3 separate regions of the Homo sapiens genome follow, and all the other regions are linked to region 1. The links are contacts of gene promoters, found by promoter capture Hi-C in blood cells and fetal thymus (Javierre and others, 2016). All regions are on one chromosome and are shown on one strand. Each heading gives the region's core, a stretch centred on a gene start or on the middle of the fragment in contact. The rest is flanking DNA. Distances are from core to core; before and after follow the strand shown.

Region 1 (3,213 bases), core at 547-3,046:
TCTACTTTTACTACATGGCATGAAGTAATATTTTCTATTCCTTTAAAAAAACATGGGCTGGGCGTGGTGGCTCATGGCTGTAATCCCAGCACTTTGGGAGGCGGAGGCAGGCGGACCATGAGGTCAGGAGTTAAAGACCAGCATGACCAGCATGGTGAAACCCCGTCTGTACTAAAAAATACAAAAATTAGCCAGGCTTGGTGGCATGCACCTGTAATCCCAGCTAACTCAGGAGGCTGAGGCAGGAGAATTGCTTGAACCCAGGAGGTGGAGGTTGCAGTGAGCTGAGATTGTGCCATTGCACTCCAGCCTGGGTGACAGAGCAAGACTCCATCTCAAAAAAACAAAACAAAACAAAACAAAAAAACACGGTAGGCTGAGTGGAGTGGCTCATGCCTATAATCCCAGAACTTTGGGAGTCTGAACTAGGAGGGTTGCTTGTGCCCAGGAGTTTGAGACCAGCCTGGTCAACACAGTAAGACCTTATCTCTACGAAAAAATAAAAATAAAAAAATTAGCCAGGTGTGGTGGTGCATGCCTGTAGTCACAGTTTCTTGGGAGGCTGAGGTGGGAGGATGGCCTGAGCTCAGGAGGCAGAGGCTGCAGTGAGGCGAGATCACACCACTGCACTTTAGCCTGGGTGACAGAGTGAGACCCTGTCTCAAAAAAAAAGCAAAGCAAAAACAAAAACCAAAAACCAAAAACCAAAAAAAAAAACAAAAAAACAAAATCCATTGTAGCAACTGGCAGCATGAAAAGTTCTGCATTTAGAATGCTTTTGTACTCAGCTTTCAGATGGAAAAACTGAGGCATAATTGGAATAAATTAAGCCTATCTGCTGGATACAGTGATGGCCTAGAGAAACTTACAATAGGATCTTACAGAGACTTTCTGAACTGGAGTGCTTGCTTTCAGGATCATCCTTCCCAGCCCCTCATTCTGCAGATGAATAAACCAAGGCTTAGCACCATGTGACTCGTGTGAACAAGGATAGGGCTGGGATAAAACATGTTCCCGATTCCTCCTGCACGTCCCACCATCATGTCAGGGTCATGGCTGCTTTGGCCCAGAGAAGCTGACATACACCTGGCTCACAGGAAGCCCCCTCCTATTGACTGGGGAGACTGCTAACCTGGAGAATGTGGATGCATTTCTCAGGAGAGGGAGAGGACCGCCTGCCTGCACAGGAGGTGAGTCCAAGGCACCGGCTGAGCTGGCCTGATGGGTGGGGCGGCAGCACCTCACCTGTACCAGGGCACCCCAGGAGGCTGCACCCAGTGACGTGGGCTGAGGATGGGGCCGGCCCCTCTCTCTGCATAGGAAGCTGGCCTCTCAGTGTGAGGAGTCGTCTTGCAGGGGAAGCAGCAATCTCATCCACATAGGATACTGTCTACATGTCCAGGACAAGGATGCAGGCAGCTGCCTGTGACAAGCGCCATGACCCTGCCAGGCTCACTCCTTGGCGGCTCACAGACCCTGAAGGCTTGGCAGGGCTTGCCTGCTGCCTTCTGCCAACTGCAGGCCACTCAACCACGGGATGCTTTCCTGCTGCTTGTTCCTCGTCCCTTGGGACACGGAGGCAGCCATCCGAGACTCACATCAGCCCCATTGTCCCCAGCCCTGGGGATGGGAAACTCTTGCAGGTACCAGAGCTTACCTGAGGCCATCTCAGACAAAAGTAAGCAGAGAGTAAACAGCAGAAGGTAGGAAGTTCTCATGGCGACTGGCAGGCAACACCCAGGATTTCAGGAACTGGGGAGACGCTGGCTCCTTTGGAGGCTGAGCTGACAGAGGCTTCCAGAGGCTGGAGCGTCACTGTATTTATAAGACTGGTGGATTGCACAACCTCGTCGACGGAACTGAAGGGAGGTGCCACAGTCAAGGGTGAACTTCTAATCGCTAACCCCTGGTGTCATTTGCCCTGAGCAGTCAGCAGTCACATGGCACATTGTCTCCATCTGGCTGCCGCTGGATTTAGCTTTCAGCCTGGAGCCCTGGTGCCAGCTCCTCCTGTTTGGTTTTCTAGGTTAGGCAGTTCTGATGGGGTTTCTGGAACAGGCAGTTCACACTGGAGTCCCTCCTTCTGGATCACATGGAGGAGAGCCACAGGGAAGCTCTGAGCAGGGGGCCGCTCGGCTCTAAGCTGGTGTTGGCCTCTTTAGTTTGATTGTCTTCCTGCAAGACAAACTCAAACTTCACCCTCTTCCCTTGCAGAAGGAGAGCTGGTTGTAATGAAGTTTCTTCCTCTGGCCAAGGCTACCTTCTCATCTCTCCCCTTATGCAGAACACTCTCCTCGATGGACCAACTTTTCTCTTTTCCCACTAGACGTGTTCCTGGGACGTTTCCAAAGGGCACTCCTCAGAAAGTGAGCCCCCAGTGTGGCCCTTGGAGGGTGAGGGTCTGGGCCAGCCTGGGCCCACCCTGCAGAGCTACAACTGCCAGATTGGGGTGCTGTTAGCGACTCTCCAAGTATCCCTCAGGTTTTCCTTGATTCTAAAGATTTAAGAAACATTTTATTTATTACTGATTTTCATTGTAATTCTGTGAGCAGCTTTCCTGATGTCTCAGTGGCTTATTTGCAAGCAGCAGACGCTGGCTCTCGCTGACCAAGGAAGGGAAGAGTTTATTCGGAGGATATCAGGGTTGGTGGGGGGTGGTGGCATTGCTGGAGAACCCAGCTTGAGGCTCAGTTTCCAGGAATGACATCCACCCTACACTGTCACGGTGGTCCAATGAGAACCCCATACTGCAGCCACATGGCATGAGACACCCAGAGTGGAGTGACCCTCAGCCACTCTACCGCTGGCAGAATGCCATTCTGCACCCAAACATGAACCTGCCGTATACTCCCACTTCAACCCTGCCAGAGAAAGACAGAGAGAGATCCAGAAAGATGGACAAACAAAAACAGAGACAGAGGAAGAGACAGAGACATGCAGAGAGACAGTAGAGAGACACAGAGAAACAGAGAGATAGAAACAGACAGAGAGAGATGGAAATAGAGAGAGAGAGAGAGATAGAGAGAAATAGATTCAGAGAGACAGAAAGAAGGAGACAGAAAGATGCAGTGGGATCCTGTAGCTAGCTCATTGAGGCAGTTCACAAAGGGTGTTTGGGAGAAAACTTGGAAGAGGCTGAGCCATGCCTGACCTAGGAGCAGTGAGATTGTGGAAAGAGAAAAGAAAGAACCGAAACACAGCTTTCCTTGCTGG
Region 2 (3,089 bases), core at 317-2,816, 150 kb after region 1:
ATTCTCCTGCCTCAGCCTTCCAAGTAGCTGGGATTACAGGCATGTGCCACCACTCTCGGCTAATTTTTGTATTTTTAATAGAGGCGAGGTTTCACCACGTTGGCCAGGCTAGTCTCGAACTCCTGACCTCAGATGATCCATCTGCCTCAGCCTCCCAAAGTGCTGGGATTGCAGGCGTGAGCCACTGCCCCCGGTCTGGAACCATTTCTTTGGTGCTGGGATTACAGGTATGAGCCACCACACCTGGCCCATTACAGCTTTCTTAACTGTTCATTCCAATCTCAATTAAATTTTTTTCAATAGAGCTGTGACAACCCCAGGTCTTCAAAGGCAGATGTGTGACCTGGGTCTGTTCAATGAAACTCCAACACTTCAGGAAAGAACATGGTGGTTTTTTCCCTAAGAAGTAGCGATGTTATGATTGTGTAAACTGAAAGCTGATAATGACTGTTTTTCCTAACACATGGGAGTTACGTTTGAGTGAATCCAATCAAAGTGAAGCAGAGTGAAAAGACAGAGAAGTAGAAGGAGAAATTGGCAGCATAATTTGTGCTTGTAAATCAGTTTGTGTCTGAAGCCAATGTTTGTCCTTGATATTCTTAGAATTTGGAGTTGTATTTTGCTTAAAAAGCTTAATTTAGGATTCTGGTGCTTGCATCCCAAAGAGTCTTGACTAAGAGGTGCATTAAACACCAAACAGGTACAAACACAAACTTGCTACAAAGACTTTATTAGGAATAAGGGAAGAAATTGAAGACAAGGTAAAGGAGTAATAAAAGTTCTCCTCTAGATCTCAAAGCAAATGATGAACACATTTTCCTCTGTGCTCCATGATCCCACTATTGGTGCAGGTCCCATAGCGGTGTTTGGAAAAATGACAGCCTGATATTCTGCCATAGCAGACCAAGCCCGTCGCTGAGCCTGAAGACACAGAGAAAGCATCAGGCATTGGGACTGGGGTCAGACGCGGTTGGTAAGGAGAATCCCCGTGCAGTTACTTACTGGGCTGATTGCATTCATCATGGTGGCCACACCACAGCAGCAGCAAGATCAGCTCAATCAATAGGAATCAACGTACACAGCAGTGCTGCTCACAGGCAGGATTAGAGACTTATTCTCATTTGCTCACTTTTTGTGATGCTGCTTCTTCACACACACATTTGAGTACACCCTTAGGTCCCTTCCCATTTGTGAAGCTCCTCTAACAAACAAAGTGAAATATGTTTCTTTCCAAGTGGGTTCTCATCCTCGATGCCAGAGAGACTCCCCAGCGTGTTTCCACATAGCATAAGATTACTAAATTTCACTGACTTTTCACAGAATCAAATACCTTTGGAGGAGCAATGTCCATTGAATATCATCTGATTCTGTCTTTTCAGTCTACACTTGAGGAAATTGAGGCCTGGAGAGGTGATCACCTAAGAGAAAGAACCAGCTATTGGGTCTGATTCTAGCGGTGCCTGGTTTTCCTCTCTAGACTCCTGGCTCTGCAGTGCTGGTGGCTCTCACCTGAATCTCTAAAACCTGAGCTTATGTCCCCTGTGAAGGAGATGGCAAAGTCCTGGTGGTCTGCCCCAAGCTGCTCCTGGGCTGCAGCCTAGTCAGCTCTTGCCTGGAGTGGCTCAAGCCAGGGCCTGGAGTGGCACCAGGAGAATGGCAGCGAGGAGGGTGAGGGTCCTCATGGCTGGGGTCACCTGGAGGATGGAGAGCAGGAGTGGATGTGTGGGGAGTGATAAGCCAGCTTGGATTTATAGCTCTGCTGGGAGAAGGCTCAGAGACAGATGCTGCAGTGAGAGGAGGTGGAGCATGTGATTGGGGAAGGGAAGGGCTGCCTTTGCCATCAAGATCCCTTTGATGCTCTTCTGTTCTCCGAGCTTTTATCATAGCATGAGTCTGCTTATCGAGTGTCTGTTCTGGGTCCAAGCCAATAGTGATGATTAGGATCATGCTATAATTTCCTGTGTCTCATCTGCTGGAACATTTACTTCTTAATATTCAAAAAAGAAAAGAAACACTGCTCTTATTCCATAAGTTCAGGCAATAAATGCCTCTTATTTTCTGAAGATGAGCCCTGCTATTCTTGGTGGTCTAGACCCTGAGGCAAGACCTGGACCCCAGCATAGAGAGTAATTCATTGCAGGATTCTGGGGCATTTCTACCCTCATGAAGGACGCTTTTGAGGTTCTGGAAGGCATAGTCTTCTGCCACTGCTAGTGTGGAGAGGACAATGGCCTCATCAGGCTATCAGTCAAATAAGCTCAGTGGGATACTAGTTAAAGAGTTGGTCTGAATAAGGTTAAAAATTTTTTTTTATTTCCAACCGTATTGAGAGGAGTGACAATTAGAAATTATATCGGTTGAAAGTACACAACCTGATAATTCAACGTATATCTACATTTGTACCCTTATCTCACACCAAATGTAAAAATCAACTCTGAATGAATTGAAGACCTAAATATAAGTCTTGAAATCATAAAACTTACTAGAAGAACCCATAGGGATAAAGCTTCCTAACGTTGAACTGGGAGATTATTTCTTGGATATTACATTAAAGGTAGAGGCAACTAAAGCAAAAATAAACCAGTTGGAGTTCATTTAACTGTAAAACATCTGCATAGCAAAGGAAGTCATTAACTGAGCAAACAGGCAACCTAGCAAGAGAGAGAAATATTTGTAAACGATACATGTAATGAAAGTAAATATCTAAATATATAAAGAACTTAATAGAAAAAAACGAGTATTAATGATAAATGTGACTAAACAACTAAAAGAAACCATTATTACATAATTAAAGGAAACTGTGATGACAAAATCTTTTCAAGGGCAGAATATAATAAAGTGAAGTTACGAAGAAACACATGAAATTCTGGAATTGAGAAGTACAATAATCGAAATGTAAATTTTATGAACGGCTGCTCAATAGTATACTTAAACTGGCAGAACCAAGATTTAGGAAATGTGTGTACAGATAGATAAAAGATTATATAGTCCAGAGAACAGAGAAAAAAGATGAAGAAACAAGAATACAGTTAGAGAAAAGTGAGATACTATTAGGCATGAAAACACTCACTGGGTTGAGAGGTGAACTC
Region 3 (3,094 bases), core at 493-2,992, 170 kb after region 1:
TTGAATTTTTATATCCTTTTGCTAAATTGACCACTGTATCATTACATAATGACCCTGTTTGCCTCTTTTTGTAATTTTTGACTCAAATTCTGTTTTGTCTGATAGAAATATGGCTACTGTTGCTCTCTTTTGGTTTCCATTTGCATGGAATATCTTTTTTCATCCCATCACTTTCAATCTATATGGGTCTTTATAGACAAAGTAATTTTCTTGTAGGGAGCATATAGTTGGATCTTGATTTTCAATCCATTCAGCCAATGTATGTCTATAAACTGAAGAATTTAGTTTATACTTAATGTTATTATTGATAGGTAAGAACTTACTATTACCATTTTGTTACTTGTTTTCTGTTTCTTTTGTAACTCATCTCTTCCTTTTCTTTCTTCTTTTATTACTTTCCTCCTTAGTGGTTAAATGATTTTCTCTGATAGCGCTTTAATTCTTTGCTTTTAAAAAAGTGTATGCATGGCTGGGCACGGTGGCTCACGTCTGTAATCCCAGCACTTTAGGAGGCCGAGGCAGGCGGATCACGAGGTCAGGAGATCGAGACCATCCTGGCTAACACGGCGATACCCCATCTCTACTAAAAATACAAAAAATTAGCCAGGGGTGGTGGCGGGCACCTGTAGTCCCAACTACTTGGGAGGCTGAAGCAGGAGAATGGCCTGAACCTGGGAGGCGGAGCTTGCAGTGAGCTGAGATCGTGCTACTGCACTCCAGCCTGGGTGACAGAGTGAGACTCTGTCTCAAAAAAAAAAAAAAAAAAATGTGTATGCATTACAGGTTTTTGCTTTAGGGTTATTAGGAAGATTATGAAATGTTCATAAGAAGTTATTTTCAACAAATGACAACTTAACTTTGATCACAAAGAAAGTAGAAGAAGCTAACAATGACAGAAAAACCTAAAAAACTCTATACTTTAACTCCCTCCCCCCCAACATTTAGACTTTTTTGATCTCAGTGTACATCTTTTTATATTGCCTATCTCTTAACAAATTGTTTTATTTATTATTTTTCATAGATTTGCCTTTAAGTATTCATACTAGAGATATGAGAGATCTACAAACCACAATTATAATATTAGAGTATTCTAAAATTGTCTGTGTACTTACTTTTACCAATTGGTTTTATACCTTCAGATGTTTTCTTTTTGCATGTTGGCATCCTTTTCTTAAAGACTAAAGACTTTCCTTTTATAATTTTGTATTAAGACAGACAGGTCTGGTAATGAATTTCCTCAGTTTTTGTTTGTCAGTCACAACCTTTATTTCTACTCAATATGTGAAAGATAGCTTTGCTGGGTGCAGTATTCTTGGTGGGAAGATTATCTCTCAGCCTGTGCCCCAGCACTTTGAGCATATCATCCCTCTCCTTGTTGGTCTGTAGGATTTCCACTGAGAAGTTTGTAGCCAGATGATTTGGAGCCTCTTTATGTTTAATTTGCTTCTTTCTTTTTGCTGCTTTTAGAATCCTCTCTTTTTCCTTTGAGAGTTTAATGACCGTATGCCTTATGATAGTCTTTTTTGTGTTGAATCTGTTTGATAATGTTTAACCTTCCTATACCTAGATATTTATATCTTTCTCTATATTTGGAAAGTTTTCTATTATTATTTATTTAAGCTTTGTAGCCCTTGCCCTCTCTCAGCTCCCTTTTGAAGGTCAATGACTTTTAGATTTGTTCTTTTGAGGTATTTTCTATATTTAATAGGTATTCTTCATTCTTTCTGTTATTGAGAGTCTGACAGCTTTCTGCTAGGCAGTTTATTTCTCAGTTCCAGGGTTTCTATTTGCTTTTTAGAAAACGATTTTGATATACTTGCTAAATTTTTCTGATACATTTCTGAATTACTTTTCTGTGTCATTGCAAAGCTTGCTGAATCTCCTAAAAACTGCTGTTTTGAATTATTGAACATTGCCATCTTCTTAGGGTTGGTCACTGGCTCCTTTGTCCATTGGGGCTGGTCATCTTTTTCTGTTTGCTGTTGTTTCTTATGCAACATCAGGTATACCGAAGACTAAAGGATGGGCTGCCATGTACCAGGCCTCCATTTCTTAATCTCTCAAATCTAGATAATTGTCTCCTACCTCATGTGTGGTAGGGAAAGCAATTGGTGTGATGCCTAACACAATGGGGACAATGAATGGATATTAACCAATATTGCCATATTTCCTTGATCCTAAGATGGTAGCTGTCTTATATTATTTTTTTCTTTCCATAACTGAATACCTAAGACTGGGTAACTTACAAAGAAAATACATTTTTTTCTTACAACTCTGAAGGCTGGGAAATCTGAGATTTAGAGGCTGCATCTGGTGAGGGCCTTCTTGCTGATAAGGAATCTCTGCAGTCCTCAGTTGTGCAGGGTATCACATGGTGAGGCGGGACACACTGAGAGGAACTGGCTTTTACAACAGACTCACAGCAGACTCACTCTTGTGACAATCTACTAACACGTTAATTCATGAATGGGTTAATCCATTCGGGGGCATAGAGCCCTCAGAACCCCATCATCTCTTAAAGACCCCACCTTTTAATAGTGTTATATTGAGGAGTAAGTCTCAACATGAACTTTTGGAGGACATACTCAAATTATAGTAATACCAATTACATAATTATAGAAGTTTATCAAAGTAAATCAAAGCAAAACCACTATCAGATTACATTTACACATAGGTGTAAGATGCATCAAAAGTTTCAAAAGCAAGGCTGGGTGTAGTGGCTCAAACCTGTAATCCCAGCCCTTTGGGAGGCCAAGGCGGGTGGATCACCTGAGATTGGGAGTTCGATACCAGCCTGGGCAACATGGTGAAACCCTGTTACTACTAAAAGTAGAAAAAATTATCTGGATGTGGTTGCATATGCCTGTATTCCCAGCTACTTGGGAGGCCAAGGCATGAGAATCGCTTGAACCTGAGAGGCTGAGGTGGCAGCTGCCTGAGATCACACCACTGTACTCCACCCTGGGTAGCAGAGTGAGACTCTGTCAAAAAAAAAAAAAAAAGAAAAGAAAAGAAAAGAAAAAAAAACCCAACAACAGTTTCAAGAATTTAATCTGTGAAAAACGTGATATAGAATATGATAGAACTAGGATAT

What was found. Contacts are between HindIII fragments. The CHiCAGO score rates a contact against its expected background, and 5 or more counts as called.
Region 2: a fragment that was not itself captured here is called in contact with the fragment with the promoter of DEFB1 in region 1 in 2 of 17 cell types (naive B cells and fetal thymus); the score reaches 5.7 in naive B cells.
Region 3: a fragment that was not itself captured here is called in contact with the fragment with the promoter of DEFB1 in region 1 in 2 of 17 cell types (total B cells and fetal thymus); the score reaches 5.3 in total B cells.

What each region holds. Positions count from the first base shown.
Region 1 is chr8:6,876,140-6,879,352 of GRCh38, forward strand. DEFB1 (defensin beta 1) reads right to left here and starts at 1,797. Exons shown (of 2, transcript NM_005218.4): 1 at 1,658-1,797. The coding sequence starts at 1,718. The HindIII fragment of the contact is 13,732 bases long and covers 1-3,213 here.
Region 2 is chr8:7,027,808-7,030,896 of GRCh38, forward strand. It overlaps the pseudogene DEFA11P. Among named protein-coding and RNA genes, the nearest start is that of DEFA3, 11 kb to the left of the region's middle. The HindIII fragment of the contact is 1,875 bases long and covers 630-2,504 here.
Region 3 is chr8:7,048,473-7,051,566 of GRCh38, forward strand. No RefSeq gene overlaps it. Among named protein-coding and RNA genes, the nearest start is that of DEFA5, 6.7 kb to the right of the region's middle. The HindIII fragment of the contact is 249 bases long and covers 1,619-1,867 here.